7 separate regions of the Homo sapiens genome follow, and regions 1, 2, 3, 4, 6 and 7 are each linked to region 5. The links are contacts of gene promoters, found by promoter capture Hi-C in human tissues and cell types (Jung and others, 2019). All regions are on one chromosome and are shown on one strand. The core of a region is centred on a gene start or on the middle of the fragment in contact, and the rest is flanking DNA. Distances in the headings are between cores, read along the strand shown.

Region 1 (2,700 bases), core at 119-2,618, 690 kb after region 5:
AGGCAAGTCTCAGCAGCTCCAGCTTTGGGAAAGCTCTTCTGGGACCTTCTGTGGGCCAGGGATGCATCTGGCCACATCTGGAGCCCACCCCCAGGTGATATCAGGGACAGCCCCTCTCTCCTCTCTCTGTCTCTCTTTCTGTCTCTCTGTCTCTGTCTCTCTGTCTCTGTCTCTCCGTCTCTGTCTGTCTCTCCTCTCTGTCTCTCTCTGTCTCTGTCTCTCTGTCTCTGTCTTTGTCTCTCTCTGTCTCTCCTCTCTCTGTGTCTCTGTCTCTGTCTCTCTCTCTGTCTCTCTCTGTCTGTCTCTCTGTCTCTCTCTGTCTCTGTCTCTCTCTGTCTGTCTCTGTCTCTCCTCTGTCTCTCTGTGTCTGTCTCTCTGTCTCTGTCTTTCTGTCTCTCTCTCACTGTCTCTGTCTCTCTCTGTCTCTCTGTCTCTGTGTCTCTCTGTCTCTGTCTCTCACTGTCTCTCTCTCTGTCTCTGTCTCTCTGTCTCTCTGTCTCTCTGTGTCTCTCTGTCTCTGTCTCTCTGTCTCTGTCTCTCCTCTGTCTCTCTGTGTCTCTCTCTGTCTTTCTGTCTCTCTGTCTCTCTCTGTCTCTGTCTCTCTCTCTGTCTCTGTCTCTCCTCTGTCTGTGTCTCTGTCTGTCTCTCTGTCTCTGTCTCTCTGTCTCTCTCTCACTGTCTCTCTCTGTCTCTCTGTCTCTGTCTCTCTGTCTCCACACACAGCATATATAACAACTATATTGTGAGCAACTTTGTCTTCCCACGGTACAAACTGAAATATCTTTGGCAAATACGTATCCGACTATACTGTGAAGAAATATTGACGTGAAAAAAGAACGCGGAGATCTGATAAAGCAACAATTCAGCTCACGGCGAGGTCCTCTGCAGGAGGCGGTTGGTGGGAAGAGGCGAGTGAGCCTGCCCGTGCGTCCCGCATGGAGACGTCTGGATTGGAAACTACCGAAAGATGTTTCAAGGAACTCTCCCTGGGTGACACGCTGGTTTTCAGACGTTTGATTCAGCTGCTGCAGTTTCCTCCTCCCTGACACGGGAACTGAACTGCAGGCCGCGGCGAGCCAGCCAGGGAAACCGCCTTCTCCCTGGGCTCGGAGCTGCTGCCGGTTCTGGAGGGAGAGACCCCAGCAAGGAGGTGGTGACTCATGGGCCGCTCCTCCCCGCCCCGCCCCGCCCCTCCCCTCCCGCCCCGCCCCTCCCCTCCCGCCCCTCCCCTCTCCTCCCGCCCCTCCCCTCCCCTCCCCTCTCCTCCCGCCCCGCCCCTCCCCTCCCCTCCCGCCCCTCCCCTCCCCTCCCGCCCCTCTCGCCCCGCCCCTCCCCTCCTTGCCCTCCGCTCTCACTCTGGCTGGGAGCAGAAGGCAGCCTCGGTCTCTGGGCGGCGGCGGCGGCCCACTCTGCCCTGGCCGCGCTGTGTGGTGACCGCAGGCCCCAGACATGAGGGCGGCCCGTGCTCTGCTGCCCCTGCTGCTGCAGGCCTGCTGGACAGCCGCGCAGGATGAGCCGGAGACCCCGAGGGCCGTGGCCTTCCAGGGTGAGTGGTGGCTTGGGGTGCAGGCTCCAGACCCCCCGCTCTTTGCTGCCGGCCAGGGCCAGATGCGCGGGGTCCCCTCCCACGCGTGGAACTGCAGACTGGGGGCCTGGAGCCCCTGAACCCCACTCCCCGCTCGGGGCGGCTGCAGCGCCCAGCTCTGCCCCACCGGGCCTTGGCCGGGGCCCCTAGAGGCTCAGCATTCAGCATTCTCAGCGGGGCCGGACCGCAGGCAGCTCGGGAGGGGCTCCCTGGCGAGGGGGAGCTGGTGCGGGGCTGTCTCGGCGCCCCGTGAATCCGTTTGACCCCTCACCTGGCAGTGAGTCCAGACGCACGGCCCCCCCGACCCCCGTTCTAGAAGAAGTCGTGCGCTGCTGGTTCTGAATCCAGCGAGAAACCTTCCCGTGAGGTCTCACTTGTCCGGTCCCGTGCCGGGGACGCCCTGCCCTTCGGGGGAGGTTGTGAAGGTTTCTGACTCCCCTCGAGGCACAGGAGCGGTTTGGGGTCTCTCACTCCACCCCCTCCCCACCGTCCCCACCGAGGGACGTCCTGCTGCCTTTTCCCGGGAGAGCCTCTCCGGGCCCGGGGCTCTGTGCTGCAGGCGCTGGGCTGGCCGGGAGGGCAGGCCCAGCAGAGACTCGGGGAATGGGGCGAGAGCTTGAAGGCCCCTCTCCTCCATCTTCGGCCAGACTGCCCCGTGGACCTGTTCTTTGTGCTGGACACCTCTGAGAGCGTGGCCCTGAGGCTGAAGCCCTACGGGGCCCTCGTGGACAAAGTCAAGTCCTTCACCAAGCGCTTCATCGACAACCTGAGGGACAGGTAGGAGGGACGCCCCGTGACCTTCCTCCTGTGCTTCTGGGCCTCTTGGAGGGAGGGGTGGGGGCCCAGGGGAACACGGGTGCGACGGCCTCAACCTCCTAAGGTTGGGCGAGCGTTGCCCTGACCGGGGCCCCTCCCGGCGCCCTCCAGAGTGAGGCCGGGGCCCTTTCCGGCGCCCTCCAGAGTGAGCTGGTCTGAGCCTCTCCCAGCGCCTTCCAGAGTGAGCTGGTTTGAGACCCTGCTCGCGGGGGTGGCACCTGTTCAGCAGGGCCGAGGTGACAGTGAGGCTGAGATGTAGGGAAGAGAGGCTCCCGCAGGCTGACCGAGAGGGCTCAGCG
Region 2 (2,700 bases), core at 5-2,504, 630 kb before region 5:
GGCTGGTGTGAGCTGAAACACGGAGCCGGAATCTCTGACAGAGCTGCCCCCGGCTAGAAACCTCACTCTTCTATAGTCCTCGGTAAAACTTCTGAGTAAAGCTCACTTTAATTCCTTAAAAGCTTTTTTTATCAACACCACAAACCTCTTTCCCATCCAGTTGGATGAAGGAGTAGCTATAGATTTAAATTTAGTTTAAGGTTTTAATTTCTTGACAAGAGTGGGTTGCACATACCAGCTAATAAGCAGATGGCCCGTTTTACCTAAAATGGATCAAACTACAAAATTAGTGATTTGTCCTCAATCTCACCCAGAAGAGAGTAAGAACTGACCTCATACATTTAAGGAACAAAGTGGGACGAAGGAAGCCTGATGTGACTGGGGTTGGGGGTTCCCATCAGGCCAAGCTCAGGAGCACGGCCCACTAGCCCGAGAGGGTGCTGTTGAGAGGCCGCTCACCAGGCCTAACATTCATCTGGTACCTGCCCCTTCTCTGCAGGGAAGGAGCTTTCCAGAATCCTGGGGAAGGTACCTCCTGAGGAAGGAGTGTGGGAAAGACACTGAGGAGAAGGCATCACACAGACTCAGGTGAGCACTCAGCATCTGGTATTTATGATATTTGCAAGAGACCTAACATCAGACAGTGCGGAGGGCCCTGTGGATGGCCCAGGCTGTGAACCCAGGAGAAACTGTGTAGAAAGGCGCATGGCCTCACCGGCTGGGATCTAGTGACGGTGCCGCAAAGGAGGCAGGCGGTCTAGTCAGGTGACGACAGTTTGCTGTGGGAGGATGTGGGGACTGCCTGGCAGGAGTTCAGAGAGCCTGCTGGCTTCTGACCTCGCACCTACGAGGGTCATAGGAGGCCACCTGCTCAGCAGCCAGTGGGGGTGCTCCAGGTGACAGGTCTATAGACCAGGGTGGGGCAGAAGGGCTGGCAGCACCCAGAGGTTGGGCAGAAGGAAGCCACACACAAAACAGGCTTGCAGCTCACAGGCACACAGCAGGCCACCTGGCAGGGGCTGGGCACACAGCAGGCTGGCTGGCAGCAGGTGGATACCCCACACAGGGGCCGGCACAGCAGAGCCACACAGGGGGCTGAGCAGCAGCAGGAGGTCCCATAGCCCTCGGGTGGGTAGCAGGTGCTGGGGACACAGCACGGGGAGCCAGGGCAGGCCATTGGGCAGCCCGAAGAGTGGCTGGTGTGGCACATGATGGAGTGTGGACAGGTGGGGGGCGCAGAGGACAGGGCTGGTCTGGAGCCTGCTTCCTTAGGTGGCCTTTATACCCAGGCTACCGGCATCCTGGCAACAAGCCCCCTGGCATCTTCCTCGTGGGTGGTTTTTCCTCCTCTGCCCTGTCTGGTTGATCTTTCTGTGTTTTTCTGTTGAGGTTACTCAGTTCAGGAAACTCTTTCAGCTAGGGGTGCCCTATCATTCAGCAGACCGTGTGTTTCCTGGAAACAGAGCAGGGGTAGCTGGTGAAGGGCTGTCAGTGAGGCCAGGGGCCCACCTCATGGATGTTCAAGGTCCCCCCGTTGTAAATGCCATCTGGAGCTCACACAAGCACAGTCACACTCACTACACCAGGGGCCCCGTTTTGACTGAGAAGCTCAGTCATCATCAGGGTCTTCCCAAGTAACGAGAGCCAAACTACTGGGCTCTATATTGTGGAATAATAATGATGATTATTGAGGTAACAGTAATGCACAGAGGTCTAGCACTGTGCCAGGCTGTGATTATCTCATTCATCTTTGCCAGCATTCGGGGTGGCCGATACCCCATTTTACAGATGTGCAATTTGTAAGTCATAGAGGGTTTGCACAATGGGTGCGTGTCTGCACCACTGCAGAGGTGCAGGGATCTGGACTGCTTAGTTTCACTCTGGGATCCATGGTCGTTACCACTGTGCCAAATTATACTAGGGCTTGAAGGTTCAATAAGTGACTCATCCTGAAGTCCTGAACCAGCTCGGACAGAGAAGATGGACGAAAACATCAGCCACGTTGGCGTCTGCAGAGCATGGCTCAGGCGTGTGACCACAGTGGGCTTCCTGACACCACACCTCAGAAGTGCCCACTTCCCACGAGTAGCACTAATGGCCACAGGACACCTCCTCTGCAGACGGAGCCCAGGAGGACCCATCACGGAGTCGGGCATGAGCTATTCATATCTGGTTCCTCTCCCTCGCTGTGGGTCTGATCAGTCTCACCCCTGCAGAGGCAGCTTGGGGGAAAGTGAGGAGCTGGTGTGAAATTCCAGGATGCCCCTGAACTTGGGAAGCAGCGGGCAGGAGTGTGGATGACACGCTCCTCCTCACACTCCAGCTCTGTTCTCTTGATGGATTGGCCACAGCGCTTTATTCTACGGTGGTGTCACACGGTGGGGGATGAGCCATCTCTCAGGGCAGAGCTACTCTGTCCATCCCAGGCAGCTCCCAGGGGCACCCTCTGCTCCTGTGTGGGTCCTTCTGTGCCTGCTGGTGGTGGATATGGGTGATTCCTGCCAAGAAGCCTTCAGACAAGTCAGACACCACATTAATGAAATCCCCTCCAAGGCTGAAGACCAAGTGGGGTCTCAGAGCTGTGGACAGAACTTAGAAGTCTATGGACCCAGAGCCGATCTGTGGCCATGTGGGAGTCACCTTAAGGCCTAGGGACAAGCCGGGCGAGGCCACAAGTTCACAGGCAACTCCTTTCACTGC
Region 3 (2,700 bases), core at 121-2,620, 580 kb after region 5:
CATGGAACGTGAGAGGAGAAGGGGCTGTGGAGAAAATGTGGTCCTGCTCGCTCATGGTTAAGGTTAACAGGAACCCAAGACAGAGGCTGGGTGGGAGGGACGTTGTGGCAGAGGCTGTGAGGCCTCCAGGGGCTCAGGAGAAATGAAGGGTCTGTGTCTCTGGGGCAGGAACCAGCCACAGATGGCCTTAGGGGAGGAGAGGACCTGGGGAGGGGTCTGGTGGGAGGCGGGGGTGGCTGGAGCAATCCCAGAGAGGCTGAGGTGTTCAGGCTGGCCCCAGATGCACACGAGCGTGAAGCCTGTTCAGAAGCCAGCTCCTCACACCCTCTCCCCTGCCAGAGGCTCCAGCACCCCCTCCCCTCTCCTCTCCCCTCCCTTCCCTGTGGTCCTCCTGCCCACCCCACCCCCGTCTGCATGTGCACCGTCACGGAGATGCGTGTACTAGGGCGGAGGTCGGGGACAGTCGTCAGAAGGACACAGGAAAGAAGGGAACAGGAATCCCATAACAGAACATTATCCGGCAGGAGTAATTAACACAGGCAGGACTGGAGGCTTTGTTTTGTTTTGCTTAAAAAACAGTGGTATTTAAATTAATGGGCATGGGAAGACTATTCAGTGAAAGACATCGGTCATTGAGGTATCTATTCAAAAACACGGTTTAGTACTCTGCCACACACCGAACGCAACGCCACAGCAGCCATAGAAGCGTGTGTGGCTGTTTAACGTGGTCTTTTTGGGGAGGGCATCCTAGGCAGAGCAGGCGTGGAAGGGAAGGCGGCGGACGGAACAAAACGCGGGCACGCAACGGCTGCTGCGCCGGATCTGAGGCAGGGCCAGCCTGTGGGAGCAGCAACATCGCTCGCAGGACAGCGATGGAGCCCCCACGAATCCGCGTGAAAGCAGCAACCACCTAGAAATGAACGTACAGCTGCTTAGAAACAGAATACGGATGACCCGAAAGACTTCCCGATGGTAGTCACCAGCATACAGGACCTGACACGGGCGTGCGGGCAGGGTGTGCCGCTACGGGGTCCCTGGCGCACCTGCTACCCCTGCTACCCGCATTCACCGCACGCGGAGGGTGCGGGCCGTGAAGGTTATACATGCAAATATCCTTCCACCAGCCAGTTCTCCTTCCAGGAATCTGCCACCCGACCCTTGTGTTGTGCACAGACATGGTCCAGGTGTTTGCGACGTGATTGTTTATCAGAGAGAGAGAAGGGAAATCTCCAGGCTCGCTGTAGCTGCAGGAGCTCTGGGGGCTGCGCCCATCGTGGAGACGGATAGCTGTCTCTCATGAACACAGGACAGCAAGTCCGGCTGCGGCCACAGAAGACTCGCCCTCCTGGACGCAGCGTCTTCCTTCCTCAGCCCCACACTGGAGGTGGCCAGTGCCATCCACAGCAGAAGGGGCCAGCCGGGACCAGGCTCACGCCGTGGAATTCTGCTCTGTGGTAAGAGGAAGAGCGATAGCTGGAACCCAGCGCCGTCGCACACACAGCGGGGAAGAGTCTCAGAAATGTTACTTTGAGTCAAAAAGCTGGACAAAAAAAGGCGCAAGCCAGATGGTGCTGAAGAGGCCACAGGAGGCTGGCAGCCAGGGGGTCTGGCACCTCACTCGGAGGCGCAGTGGGCCCGTCCGGAATTAGTGGCCATACGGCAAGTGCCGAGTGGACATCAAACCGTCACTTCAGACTCCTGCGCTTCACTGCCTGTCGGTTATGCCTGGGTTTTGAAATCAAGTCACAGAACACCTGGAATGTGGTGTTTACGCAGAACAAAGCGGGTGCCTCGGAGGAGAGAGCCTAGGGACAGGGGCACCTCCCGGTGTGGGTGCCCAGGGTTGCAGGGTGGCTTCCTCTGTCTGCGCGGTTTTCAGAGCCCCAGGGTCCTGCCTGCCCGGCTGCCTGGAGGCGGCCCACATCCTGCTCTGCGCCGCCGAATCTCAGCCTGAACAGCTTCGCTGGTGTTTGTGTTGACTTATTTGTTCTTTTTTTTTTTTTTTTTTTTTAAATAAAGGATTCCGATGCTGTTACAGTCAATAAAAGCCACAGGTCTGGGTGACCTACAAATGTGTGTGTCTGACTTTCTGCAGTTTAAATCGCCACTGAGCCTTAAGGCGTCTGGCCCGCGCATTGAGGAATCCACGTGGGTCTCGGGGTCCCCATGCCTGCCCAGCTCCCTGCTTCAGCCTGGGCGGGTCTGGCGGGCATTTCTGCGAGCCTGTCCCTGGGCCCGCCTCCTGGCCAGACTTCCAGAAACATTGTCCACATCCCCGTTGCACGTCCCCCCGTCACCGGAAACTGCAGCCCACAGCACTGGGAAGAACCCGGGAGGCAGGCGTTAGGACGGGGTGGCCGAGACAGGGAAGGGAGCCATGGCGGACGTCCTCACCCAAGCCAGGGCTTCCTGCCCCTGTGGTACTGACAGGAGCCCCGCAGGACGTGGGGTTGGCTTTGGGCAGCTCGGTGGACACTTCTCTTTCAGATCCTGCCACAGCAAAGCTCACGAGACTCACTTCTTCCCATTGGAATTCACTAAGAACAAATTCAACAATTCAGACGCCCCAGCTGGAGGTTTATTTTATGGATTTTACCTGTGCGGTATTTAGGGTTGTGTTTATGAATAAAGGTGTGCGTTCTGGCAAGTAGAAATACAGAGCTTGTCTTTCACCCAAGTATCTGTAACTTTCTCCAATGC
Region 4 (2,700 bases), core at 10-2,509, 960 kb before region 5:
CCCCCCCCACCAGGGGCTCCCTGCACCTCACGAGCTCTGGTGCTGTGAGCCTTCTCTGTGCCAGGGCACGGGGCCTGGCTCACCCCCTCTCCTGCTCCCTGGCACATCCGCTGTTGGGCAAAACATGGACCTGCCACTGAAATCACTACCTGGGCACTGAGTCACTCCCAGAGAATATGGATGAGAACAGACACTCCCCCCGGATAATCCCTGTCCCTCACTTCCCAGAGACGCAGCTCACGGGAAGCCCCATTCACTCCCCGTGGGAGGACCCTGGGGGACAGGGATGGGCTGCGGAGTCCCCGCTGCCCTCCAGCCTCACGTTGCCTCCTCCTCGCTGTCCAGCGGGTCCCGGCCAGTCTCAGCAGCGGAGCTGAGGGAGCTCAGTGTGCAGCATAGCTTGGGGCCGCCGTGGCCTGTGCCCTCTCTCTCTGGGGCCGCAGTGATCTCCTCTCCCTCACTCAGTGCACGGGACAGCTCCTCCTCCGTCACAGCTTTGGGATGAAAGACAGAAGACAGCATGAGTGGCCTCACCCACGTGCAGGCCACATGCACTGCAGCTCCCGTCCTCACTGTGGCTTCAGGCACAGTCTGCTTGTGAAATGCATGCACGTGTATCCACCTCCAGGGACAACTCCCAGAGTAGCAGCCGGTTCCTCACTGTCCCATCCCCAGCCTGGCACAGGCTGACACACAACAGATGGTGGAGGGCTGCTCAGGAATCTCAACACCAGCCTTGGCCAGAAGCAAATACTCCTCAAAACCTCAACTAAGACACAATAGAAAAAGGAACAGACCATATTGAATTTATTCCATTTCTCTCATATATCAATTTCCCTGAAGTTTATATTATTAATATCAATAAAATTGTCTGGGAGAAAATAGTGGTGTCTGTATACCTGACAAGGATGAGACACTAGTGTGCTGAGAATGCCAAGGATGAACAAACAGCATGAAACCACAGCCTGGAAAACTGTGTCGGTGCTGGCGCTGGCTAGAGGAGGCACGAGTGCCTCCAATAGGTGGAGCGCAGCAGCAGGCACTGCGGTGCTGGGACGGCCCCTCCCCACGGCAGGGGCGCGATGGCACCGCCACCCTAGGTTCACAGTGGCCCGTGGAGCCTGCCCAGTCCCTGTGGACCAGTGCGATGCTGCTTGCCAGATACTGACGCCCCCGCTCGCCATGGCGCATGGCGATGGTCAGAGCAGGGCTGCTACTCACAGAAGCAAAAGAAGGAACCCTTTTGCTTTGCTACCAGGTCCTGCGGTCGTTGGGGGATACCCAAACTGTCAGTCCCAGGAGGGACCCTACGCTGCGCTGCTGCATTCGGGTGGCGGGATCAAGAGGAGACACAGAAGCCAGGGGAACAGCCTCTGGAGGAGACTTCACAGGACACATCTATGTCCCGCCAGACCAGGTATTTGCAGAAAAGGAGAAGAGAAAAGAGGGCTGGGGACATCCCCTTCCAGGGATTGTTTTGGGAGGGCCGGTGACTCCGCTGCGGCCACCTACCCTGGTTGTCCAGCTTCTGTAGGCGCGGCAGGGTGCGCAGCACGGTCATGCGGTAGCGGTGGGGGCTGGTGCCGCAGCACGGGTTCTCGGCCAGCCACAGCACCCGCAGACGCGGCAGCCCCTTCAGGTAGAAGAGCTCAGCCAGGCTGGGGATGCGGTTCCTCCGCAGGTACAGCTCACTCAGGCGCTGGCACCGGCTCACAGGCTCCAGGGTGGAGATGCTGTTGACACTGCACGGAGACCAGCACAGTCAGCGAGGGACGTGGCCAGGGCCCCCAGGGCCACCTCTCAATCCCCACCCCCAGTAAAAGGCACTCATGGGACCTGTGTCCCTGCCCTCTCCTGAGAAGCCTAAATCGGATGTCACAAGTCACGTGCAGCAGGACCTGGGCCGAGGAGAGAGCTGTAGGAAGGCCAGGCCCTGAACTCAAAGGCGGACTGGGGTGGACCCCACCAGCAACAGCCCCTTGGCCCGACGCTCCACATCAGCTCCTCAGGGCGCTAGAGTGCGGGAGGTGGGGGATGTGGCCCTCCTTCACAGGTGAGGAAAATTAAGGCCTCTCAGGGGACATATCATGTTGCCCCAAAGCAGGGAGCGGCCAGAAAAACTCATGGCAAAAACTAGGAGCCAGCTCCACGTGACATGGGAGTGAGCACGGACCTTCCAAACCCCCACTTGAGGGCGGCAACACTGGGGATGGGCCTCATTTCCATTCTACAGAACGTGGACGCGTCAGAGAAGAGAAACAGCAGGCCTGGAGCGGGGACCTGCAGGCTTTACCCTGCAGCGTGGGGTCCGTCCCCTCCACAAGCGAACACGCGGAGCCGCTCCCGCAGGCCCTCAAAGGCGCGGAGCCAGGGCCCCCTGCCTGGAGGGCTGCACTCGCGTCCGGCAGGCGCCTCAGAAGGGCGGTCACCAGGCCCCCATGGGCAGCCTGCCGTCCTGAGCCCCCCTCCCCATGCCATCCCTTCACTCGGGGTTTCCCAGGTCTCATGCAGCTCCTAGCTATGAGGCCGCCCCATTTTACCAAGAGCAAAACTCCGGCTGTGGGACTCTTTCCAGGATGGGGTCTGCCTCAGGCACAGGCAGCAGCGTGATGTACCGACCGCGTCCGCGGCCTCGAGGCTTCCTGCTCCGCTCCAGTGCAGTCAGGCGTGCAGGCACCACGCACCTGAGCTCGGTCAACA
Region 5 (2,700 bases), core at 101-2,600:
TGCATTCATGAGAAGTGAAAAAGGCGTATAATACTCTGGTACTACTATTAAAACGGCTACAAAAGCTCAGAGATCCAGGACACACTTTAAGATCACTGCCCTAGAGGAAGGACACAAAGCGCCCCAAGGCACAGACAAGTCCCCAAGGCACAGACAAGTCCCCAAGGGCTACAGAAACCCTGTCCCTGGCGCTCTCCTTTCCCTGCTCTGCGCTGGTTTTCCATACTCCCATCGTCGCGAGTGAAGCTGCGTGCAGCGCCCAGGCCTGCGAACGCCACGAGGGGCCGTGCACACCTCTGCGTCCAGGCCCCTCCCGGGGTCCGCTTGGAGATCCCACAGCCACAGGGCGGCCGCGAAGCTCGTCTTGGCCCTGAGAATTCACTGCGGAGCGCCCGCCCGGCACTGACTCCCGGCTCCGCACACCCAGGCCTGGACCCGTGTCACTTGCAGGGGCCTCCGGAGCCAGCCCACGCTCAGCCTGAGCAACCCGGCCCCCTTCCTGGGCTCCCGAGGCTGCGCCCCGGGCCTCGCAGACGACCCCGCCTGCAGACCCGGGCCGCAGTGACGCAGCCTCGACTACAGCCAACCCGCTGGCCCGACCCTGCCCCCAGCCCCCGCCCCATCCCATCCCCCAGACTCCAGCCCGGCCCCGGCCCCTGCCCCTGCCCCTGCCCCTGTCCCGTCCCCGTCCCATCCTTCTTGGCCCCGGCTCCCGCCCCGCCCCCATCCCATCCCTCGGGCCCCCGTTCCTGCCCCCATCCCATCCCACCCCTCCTGGCCCTAGCCCCTGCCCCGCCCCCATCCCATCCCATCACCCTGGCCCCTGCCCCGCCCCCATCCCATCCCATCGCCCTGATCCCTGCCCCGCCCCCATCCCATCCCTCCTGGCCCCTGCCCCCTGCCCCTATACCATCACCCTGGCCCCTTACTCCGCCACATTCCTTGCCCCAGAACCCTGACCCCATCCCATTCCCCTGACCCCTGCCCCCTGACCCCGCTCCATCCCATCCCCCTGGCCCCTGCCCCATAACTCCGCTCCATTCCATCTCCCTGGCCCCGGACCACCCTCCATCCCGTGGGCCTGCCCCTGACCCCATCCCATCTCCCTGGCCCCTGACCCCGCCCCGCCCCCATCCCATCCTCTGACCCTGCCCGGTCCTGGAACCCCAGCGTTGGCACCGTGGACGCGCGTTTACCGTCTGCGGGAAGCCGCCCCCGACAGAATATCGGCCGCCGATTGTCCGGGCCAGAACTCCTGGCCGGAGGCAGAAGCCGGAGGCCAGGACACTGCCCCCAGCAGCAGGAAGACGAAGCTGAGTGTCGCCATGGCCCCGGGCGGCCACGCACTTCCGGCGGCCGCGCCCCGCCCCGGAACCACGCCCCGCCCCCGTGAAATGCGTTCCCAGTAGCCACGGCAACGCCCAGCTCCGCCCTCCCCGCGCATGCGTTATGCGCCATCACCGGCAAGCAGGGGCGGGAGGGGGAACTGCGCGTGCGCAGAGTCTCCGCCCTCCTGACCGCAGCGGCTAGAGGTTCCATTGCAGACCCGGAGGCCGTGGCTGTGGTTCGCGGCGGTGCTGTCGCGGGCGCCCTGGCGCAGCCCACGCAGGGGCTCCTGAGGGTCCGCGAGGCCGGGAGGTCCGGGGGTCGGGAGGTCCCGGGGTCGGGAAGTCGGTGGACCCTGCAGGCCAGTGGGGAGGGTACGCGAGACTGGGGGCCGGGAGGGCTGACGGCTGGTGGCGCGGGGCGGGTCCGTGGGGAGGAGGCCCGGGGCTGGTAGGGGCGGGAGGGCTGGACGGCGGGGGCGGGGCGGAGGAGGGGGTCCGTAGACGGGGTCGGCGCCGGGTGCTCTCGCCCCTCTGGAGCTGGGGTCGGGGCGGGAGCCGCGCATGAGAGCCTGGGTTTCTAGTCGGGGGGCGCCGTCGAGCTCCACACCTGCGGCCTCCTGGGTGCCCCCAACCCTGGAGCCCCGGCGAGGGGGCACCCGGGCTGAGGCCTGGCCCTCCAAGGAGCCCTGGAGGGACTGTGCTGCTAGGGCGCGGGGCTCGATGGGGTGATCTGGAGACCTGGGGGGATCCGGGGCTGCCGCCCCTGCGCTGCCAACCTCCCACCCCGCCCCTTCTGCGAGGCGTTATTAAAGGTCTGGTTTCGGGAGCCAGGTGCGTGCCCGCCGCCGCCGCTCCCCGCAGCCTCCAGGCAGCTCCCGCTGTTCCCCGAGGGCACCAGCACTGGCCGACCGACCTGGCTTGGGGCGCGGCGCTGGCAAACCCGGCCTTCTGAGGGGACGCCACGCTGACTCTAGTGCAGGCAGCCCCCAAAACGGTATAATTGGACGAATTTCTTGAAGGATGCCAGTTACCAAAAAAGAAAATACTAATGCTTATTATCTGTTAAATTTGAGATCAATTTGTTATCAAATTTTCTCACACAGAAAATTCCAGGCCCAGAGGGCCAAGCTGGTGAATCCTACTTAGAGAAGAAATAATAGGAATCCAGCCACTCAGACGATGGACGAGGAGGGGCACTTCCCTGCTCGATGTATGGGCCAGCATTGCCTTGATAGCAAAGTCAGACATCACCAGACAGTAGAACCACAGACCAATGTCTTTCATGAACCAAGACACAGCATTTAAAAAAATTAGCAAATGGAATTTATATCTGCCTATTGTTTACAAAAAAAGCCAAACTTTGTAAAATACT
Region 6 (2,700 bases), core at 25-2,524, 520 kb after region 5:
GTTGTCCTGTGACACTGACTGTCCCTCTGTGGCTCTCGGGGTCTCCCCTCCTCTTCCTTGAGGGCATCGTCATGATTCAGCAGTGACTTCTGGGCTGGGTGGTTAGCGGGGCTCCCTCCTTTACCCTCAGACCCCTTGGATGCCATCCTGGGCAGAGGCCTTGGCCCAGTGCAAGCTCTTTCTGCCCACATTCTCCTGGTAGCGGCTCTGCAGCTGGGCGCTGTTTCTGCCCTGTCATGCAAGTGGGCTGGGTGCAGAGGCTCACAGCTGGGTGCTGGGGCTGGGGGTGAGCTAGCTGTCCGGCCCCTGCGTCAGCACCACCCCTTGCTGTGTTCCTGAAGCGTCCTGTCTTCCATGGTCAGGATGCTCTTTCAAGACAGCCCTGATGGCATCACCTCCCTTCACTCGCCTCTTCTTAGCTTGTTCATTAAAAACAATTGTACTTACTGAGTGCCTACGTTGTCCTGTGCCCGGGCTGCCCAAGGTGGTGTGAGTGTCAGGGCACGTGGCCCAGAGGGCTCTGCAGAGACGGCTCTGAGAGCAAAAGTGAGCCATGCTGGAGAAGGGACAGGAGCCCCTGGGAGACGTAAGAGATGGGGACAGGCTGACGGAGGAGGAGGACCGGGCTGGGGGAGGATGGTGGGGCTCTAAGCAGGGCAGGAGGTCAGATTGTGTGTTTGGGATGTTCCTCTCCTTCATGGGGAGGAGAGGCCCTGAGGGAGGCAGGAGCAGGAGGGGCATCGTGTCCCCAAGGACCCCAGGCAGGGCCTCCAGGGCTGGTGCTGGGAGGAGGCAGGGATGGGAAGGGTCCCCGAGGGCCCTGAGCAGGGCTAACCCTAGGGAAACCACACACAGGCCACGGAGGGAAAAGCTTTTAACCCTTGTCGTGTATAAACGACTCACTAGGTCTTGGTGCATTTTTCATTGATACTCATATATTTACTGTTGAATCTCTTTGAGTTCTTTTTAATGATTTTTCTTGTTTTCAATAAAAAATAACATTTCCCGTCTGCATTGTACAGTCATAATTTGAAAACAAAAATTGTTTTGTTGTGCAAACACTTGTTCTGATTCTTTATCTATTCGTTGGAAGTCAGTCACAAAGCAACTTGAGAAAACAGCCTGTCTCTGCCTCCAGCCTGGTGTGCCTGCAGCTGTGTGGGTGCGTCCCCTCCTCACTTTCTCAGCAGAGGCAGAGGCTACAGTCTGAGTGGCAGAGCCCACCTTTCTGCTGGGGGTAGTGGCCATGCAAGGGTATTGGTGTGTTTTTTGCACATGCAGCTGGCCATGCTTTAAAATAAGCAGATTGACCTTTGTTTACCTTTCACCCCCAGAATGGTTTGGTCAATGACAGCAGCCATTTTTATTGTTTTTATTGTTTCTTTTCTGTGGTGGTGAAGGTGGCATCCCCTCCTAGCAGCTGCACACTGGGGTGGTCCTGAGGAAAGGAGGGCGAGAGCAGAGCTTGGGGGCGGGCCATGAGGGGAAGTCCAGGCCTCTCCACCCAAGGATGACCCTTTCTCCAAGAATCCTGCAGTCTGTTGTTAGGTCGGGAAAAAGCCGTGGTGGTTTTATACTGCCAGTGCCGGGAGCTTTCCCATGAAGTTTAAATGCAAACAGGACACTGAGGGCAGGAAGGTGTGCTGAGCTGCCCTGCACAGTGCTTGGCTCTGATGCCCACCCCAGGGTCCCTGGGCACTGCCAAGCTGGGCATGAACCTGGGGTAACCCAGAGGAACCTGGAGCAGTATGGGCTCCAAGAGGCCCCTGAGCTTCTCCAGGACCCAGATGGTGACAGCCTGGAACATGGCTTCCCCGTGGCCTCGCTGCCATAGTCAGGCCTCGGGAGGTGACCCTGTGCCAGGGCACCGGATGGCCCAGGTCCTGCTGGGGTGGGCTGCTGAGTCCCTTCCCATGAATGTTGTTACTGTGCTGTATCTCACTTGTGCCCTCGCTGAGATGAAGGACGCCTAGACCTTAGTGCAGGTGCCTTGGGGGCGTCCTGGCACTGAACATCCTTGAGACATCTGTGGTGCTTCTCTTCCTCATCTGTGGTGTTGTGGGCCTCCAGGGGAGGTGGCTGTCTGCCTGGAACAGGAGGCCCAGCCCACAGGTGCCCACTGCCTGCTGCCGCGCCTCCCTCTCTGCTGCCCGCGTGGCTGTAGTGTTTTTTACCCCATTGCTGTTTCGCTTGGCACCTACACGTTGGTTCCCTCCTGTGCACCGGGCTTTGTGCTGCAGGCTCTGGCGTGTTCACAGTACTCCTTTGGAGGGATTCTGTTTTTAGAATTAGTGGTACAATATCTTGTCATCTTGGTAACTTATTATTAATAAAAATGGTATAAAATGTTTTGCCTCCTAGTGCCCACACCATCCATGTAGATTATATTGATTTACTCCAGCTATTTGAAAGGCTTTGAGGTGGTGTACAATATCAAACCATGTGAAACAGCACGATTAACTGGCAAAACCAAAAGCCATGGAAATGAGCCGGGGAGCTTACTGAAGATCCTAGTCTTGGGGGAGATGTTTGGTGAAAATGTGTGCATTTGCTTATGAAAGACTTGTATTTATTCTGCACCCCCCTGACCCTGAGTGTCCCTTGGTCCATTGCCTGGGCTCTGTTGTCCTTACCAGGACTGCTGCTTCCCCAGTCCCTGCTGTCCTGCTGATGTGTCCACGCACCAGGCATTCGGCTCCT
Region 7 (2,700 bases), core at 67-2,566, 810 kb after region 5:
TTCCCCCTGGGAGCTGCTGGCTTGGAAGCAGGAGGCATTGCCCAGGTGAGAGTTCGGCATGGACCCAGGGGAGTGGCACACGGTGCCCGCCGTCAGCTGTGCTCAGGAGCAGCAGGCAGGAGCCCTGGACTCATGGCTACCATGTGGCTGCCACACTCAGGCACACTTAGGCACATACACTCACACTCAGGCACACTTAGACACACACATTCACACTCAACCTCAGACGCAGACACACACCACACACTCACAGATGCACACAGTCTCAGACACAGACACACACCACACACAGATACACACACCACAGACTCAAACTCAGTCTCAGACACAGACACACACCACACACTCAGATGCACACACCACACACACTCAGTCTCAGACACACACACACACCACATTTGCAAACCTGCTCATCAGAAGAGGGACCTCGCCCCCAGCCGCTCCGCCACCTTCCAGGACAGCTCTGAAGGGAGCCCTGTCCCGGAGCCCAGGGACCTCTCCCCAACCCGGCTGCGCCTCACCTCAAGGAGGAACCCCGGCCCTGGCTGGGGGACTGTGACCAGGGTGGGGAGTGGGGACCCCAGACAGAGCCCTACCAGGGACCCCTGTCACTCTGTCCCCGGCTGGGCTCAGGTGGGGACCTCACGGTGGTCCCAGGGCCCAGCACCAAGCCCACCTGTGGTTTCCAGCGGGAAAGGGGTGGCAGGGGTGGCTCGCCGCATGCCCAGGCTCTGCCCCAACCTCCGCGCCCAGGCTCTGCTGTCCCTGCCCTCCCGGCTCCCCACCCTCAGGCCCCAGGAGCGGCAGTTTCTGCAGGAGCTCCTGACCCGGGGCCTCTCGCGGGAGGCCTGAGCAAGCCGGACACAGGACACGGGGTAGGGGAGGGGTCGGGGGGCTGATGGGGGGAACCCTGCACCCCCCAGGGCAGCTGCTACCAAGGGGCGAGTCCCAGGGCCCCCGTCGGCCCTGCGTGCGGGGCGCGGTCCCCAACACCCAGGGCCCCGGAGGCGGACACAGCCCCAGCCAGGTCGTCCGGGAAATGGGGCGGGGGCGACGGGCGGCCGGGCCCGGGACGCGAAGTCCGAGCAGCAGCGGGCAGGGGCTGGCGGGGGAGCTCGGCCCGGGCTGCAGGGGGGTCCCCACCCTCTCCACCTCCTCCAGCCTCCCGCCCTCGAGGGTCCCCGCTTCCCTCCCATCCCCCTCCCGTGCCCCCGGCCCCCTCCTCCCATCCGCGGGGCCGCAGCGCTTCCTGGCGGCGGGGCGGGTCAGGCCGGCGGGGCGGGGTATAAAGGGGGCGGCGCCGGCCGCGGTTCCCTCCCTGCTGCTTACTCGGCGCCCGCGCCTCGGGCCGTCGGGAGCGGAGCCTCCTCGGGACCAGGTGAGCGCCTCCCGGACCCCGCACCCTGGAAGCCGCTCGGCCCGCGGGGGGTGACCCCGAGTCCTGGGAAGGCGGCGGCGGCGGCTCCGTCCCTCGGGTCCCCGGGAAGGGGGACTCCAGCCCCAGGGACGGCGGGGGGCTCGGCGGGTTCGGGGCTCCTCCTCGCGGGGCTGGGGCCGCGCCTGCCCCTGTGGCTCCGCGTCTCTGGGTCCGACCCTCGGGCGCGCGACTTGGGGCCACCTCCCCGCGGCCTCCTCTGGGGCGGAGCCGGCCTGGGCGGGGTGGGGGGGTCCCTGTCTGCGCCCGAGCTCGGTGCTGGGACCCCCGCTCCCGAGACGACCCCGGCACCGCACGCCCCGCCAGGCCCCGCGTCTGCGAGCGGTTCGGGTCCGGCTCCGGCCCGCGGGGAAGACGCCCCGGCTGGCTGGGACCTCCGGGGGCGCAGGGCCTCTCCCCGGGCCGGACGGAAGGGGCGGCGGGGCGGGGGGAGGAGGGGCTTTCGGTGCCCGAGGGCGGGACTGGGCGGGGAGGGGACGCGGGTGGCCCCGACGCCCCATCGCTGCGCCCCTCCCGGCCTGGAGCCCACCAGGGCCCCGCCAGGCCCAGGAGAAGCTGCAGACGGAGGCGGCTCCCCAGGGCGGCGGGACCCGGGCTGACAGCGACCCGCAGCCCCTGCCGGGCCGCCCACACCCGCCCTGGGACTCCGCCGGGGCGCTGGTGGAACCGCTGGGCCTGGGTCTCCACTGCTGGCAACCGAACGGATCGGCCCTCTGTGGAGCCGCAGGTGTGCGGGCGAGCGGCGCCCATCCGGGCTGTGCCAGCAGAACCCCGGTGCCCGCGCCTAGGACGCCCCTGGAGAAGGGACCTTCCCTTTGGGGTCGGAACCCAGAAAGGAGGGGCCTGCGATCCGCGGAGCTCCTTGTTCTTGGGATAACACAGCTCTGGCTTGGAGGCCCCCTTGCACTTCGACTCTGGTGATTATTTCAAGAAAGGCCAGACCGGGCACGGTGGCTCACGCCTGTAATCCCAACACTTGGGGAGGCCGAGGCGGGCAGATCACCTGAGGTCAGGAGTTCGAGACCAGCCTGGCCAACAGGGTGAAACCCCGTCTCTACTAAAAATACAAAAAAAAATTAGCCGGGCGTGGTGGCAGGCACCTGTAATCCCAGCTAATCGGGAGGCTGAGGCAGGAGAAAATCACTTGAACCTGGGAGGCGGAGGCTGCAGTGAGCTGAGATCGCGCCACTGCACTCCAGCCTGGGTGAGGGAGCGAGACTGTCTCAAAAAAAAAAAAAAAAAAAAAAAAAAAGGAAAGAAAGGCC

The links. The method cuts DNA at HindIII sites, captures the fragments that hold promoters and counts their contacts. A contact is called where the count stands out against the background at its distance.
Region 1: the fragment with the promoter of COL6A1 here is called in contact with the fragment with the promoter of POFUT2 in region 5 in 3 of the 25 tissues and cell types used here (heart right ventricle, lymphoblastoid cells and neural progenitor cells).
Region 2: the fragment with the promoter of KRTAP12-4 here is called in contact with the fragment with the promoter of POFUT2 in region 5 in 1 of the 25 tissues and cell types used here (thymus).
Region 3: a fragment that was not itself captured here is called in contact with the fragment with the promoter of POFUT2 in region 5 in 1 of the 25 tissues and cell types used here (dorsolateral prefrontal cortex).
Region 4: a contact is called between a fragment that was not itself captured here and the fragment with the promoter of POFUT2 in region 5, in 2 of the 25 tissues and cell types used here (dorsolateral prefrontal cortex and spleen).
Region 6: a fragment that was not itself captured here is called in contact with the fragment with the promoter of POFUT2 in region 5 in 4 of the 25 tissues and cell types used here (dorsolateral prefrontal cortex, lymphoblastoid cells, mesenchymal stem cells and 1 more).
Region 7: a contact is called between the fragment with the promoter of COL6A2 here and the fragment with the promoter of POFUT2 in region 5, in 1 of the 25 tissues and cell types used here (lymphoblastoid cells).

What each region holds. Positions count from the first base shown.
Region 1 is chr21:45,980,402-45,983,101 of GRCh38, forward strand. COL6A1 (collagen type VI alpha 1 chain) reads left to right here and starts at 1,369. Exons shown (of 35, transcript NM_001848.3): 1 at 1,369-1,546; 2 at 2,233-2,362. The coding sequence starts at 1,450. It overlaps LOC105372841 (a long non-coding RNA gene), which reads left to right. Exons shown (of 3, transcript XR_937803.3): 3 at 889-1,165. RefSeq lists enhancers at 1,127-1,989, 1,990-2,700. The HindIII fragment of the contact is 42,283 bases long and covers 1-2,700 here.
Region 2 is chr21:44,653,405-44,656,104 of GRCh38, forward strand. It overlaps KRTAP12-4 (keratin associated protein 12-4), which reads right to left and starts at 1,255. Exons shown (of 1, transcript NM_198698.1): 1 at 809-1,255. The coding sequence starts at 1,210. The coding sequence ends at 872. The region is part of intron 1 of TSPEAR (thrombospondin type laminin G domain and EAR repeats); the gene reads right to left. RefSeq lists enhancers at 1,719-2,219, 2,220-2,700. The HindIII fragment of the contact is 6,744 bases long and covers 1-2,700 here.
Region 3 is chr21:45,866,422-45,869,121 of GRCh38, forward strand. All of the region lies in intron 5 of PCBP3 (poly(rC) binding protein 3), which reads left to right. Among named protein-coding and RNA genes, the nearest start is that of PCBP3-AS1, 31 kb to the left of the region's middle. The HindIII fragment of the contact is 9,205 bases long and covers 1-2,700 here.
Region 4 is chr21:44,331,521-44,334,220 of GRCh38, forward strand. CFAP410 (cilia and flagella associated protein 410) reads right to left here. Exons shown (of 7, transcript NM_004928.3): 4 at 1,513-1,742; 5 at 323-494. Among named protein-coding and RNA genes, the nearest start is that of CFAP410, 6.5 kb to the right of the region's middle. RefSeq lists enhancers at 1-349, 350-849. The HindIII fragment of the contact is 7,900 bases long and covers 1-2,700 here.
Region 5 is chr21:45,286,545-45,289,244 of GRCh38, forward strand. POFUT2 (protein O-fucosyltransferase 2) reads right to left here and starts at 1,351. Exons shown (of 9, transcript NM_133635.6): 1 at 1,197-1,351. The coding sequence starts at 1,327. LINC00205 (long intergenic non-protein coding RNA 205) reads left to right here and starts at 1,508. Exons shown (of 3, transcript NR_026943.1): 1 at 1,508-1,700. RefSeq lists a silencer at 1,278-1,807 and an enhancer at 1,962-2,692. The HindIII fragment of the contact is 23,447 bases long and covers 1-2,700 here.
Region 6 is chr21:45,801,986-45,804,685 of GRCh38, forward strand. The region is part of intron 4 of PCBP3 (poly(rC) binding protein 3); the gene reads left to right. Among named protein-coding and RNA genes, the nearest start is that of PCBP3-AS1, 33 kb to the right of the region's middle. The HindIII fragment of the contact is 9,548 bases long and covers 1-2,700 here.
Region 7 is chr21:46,096,796-46,099,495 of GRCh38, forward strand. It overlaps COL6A2 (collagen type VI alpha 2 chain), which reads left to right and starts at 1,317. Exons shown (of 28, transcript NM_001849.4): 1 at 1,317-1,378. COL6A2-DT (COL6A2 divergent transcript) reads right to left here and starts at 850. Exons shown (of 2, transcript NR_186433.1): 1 at 677-850. RefSeq lists an enhancer at 1,140-1,434. The HindIII fragment of the contact is 26,496 bases long and covers 1-2,700 here.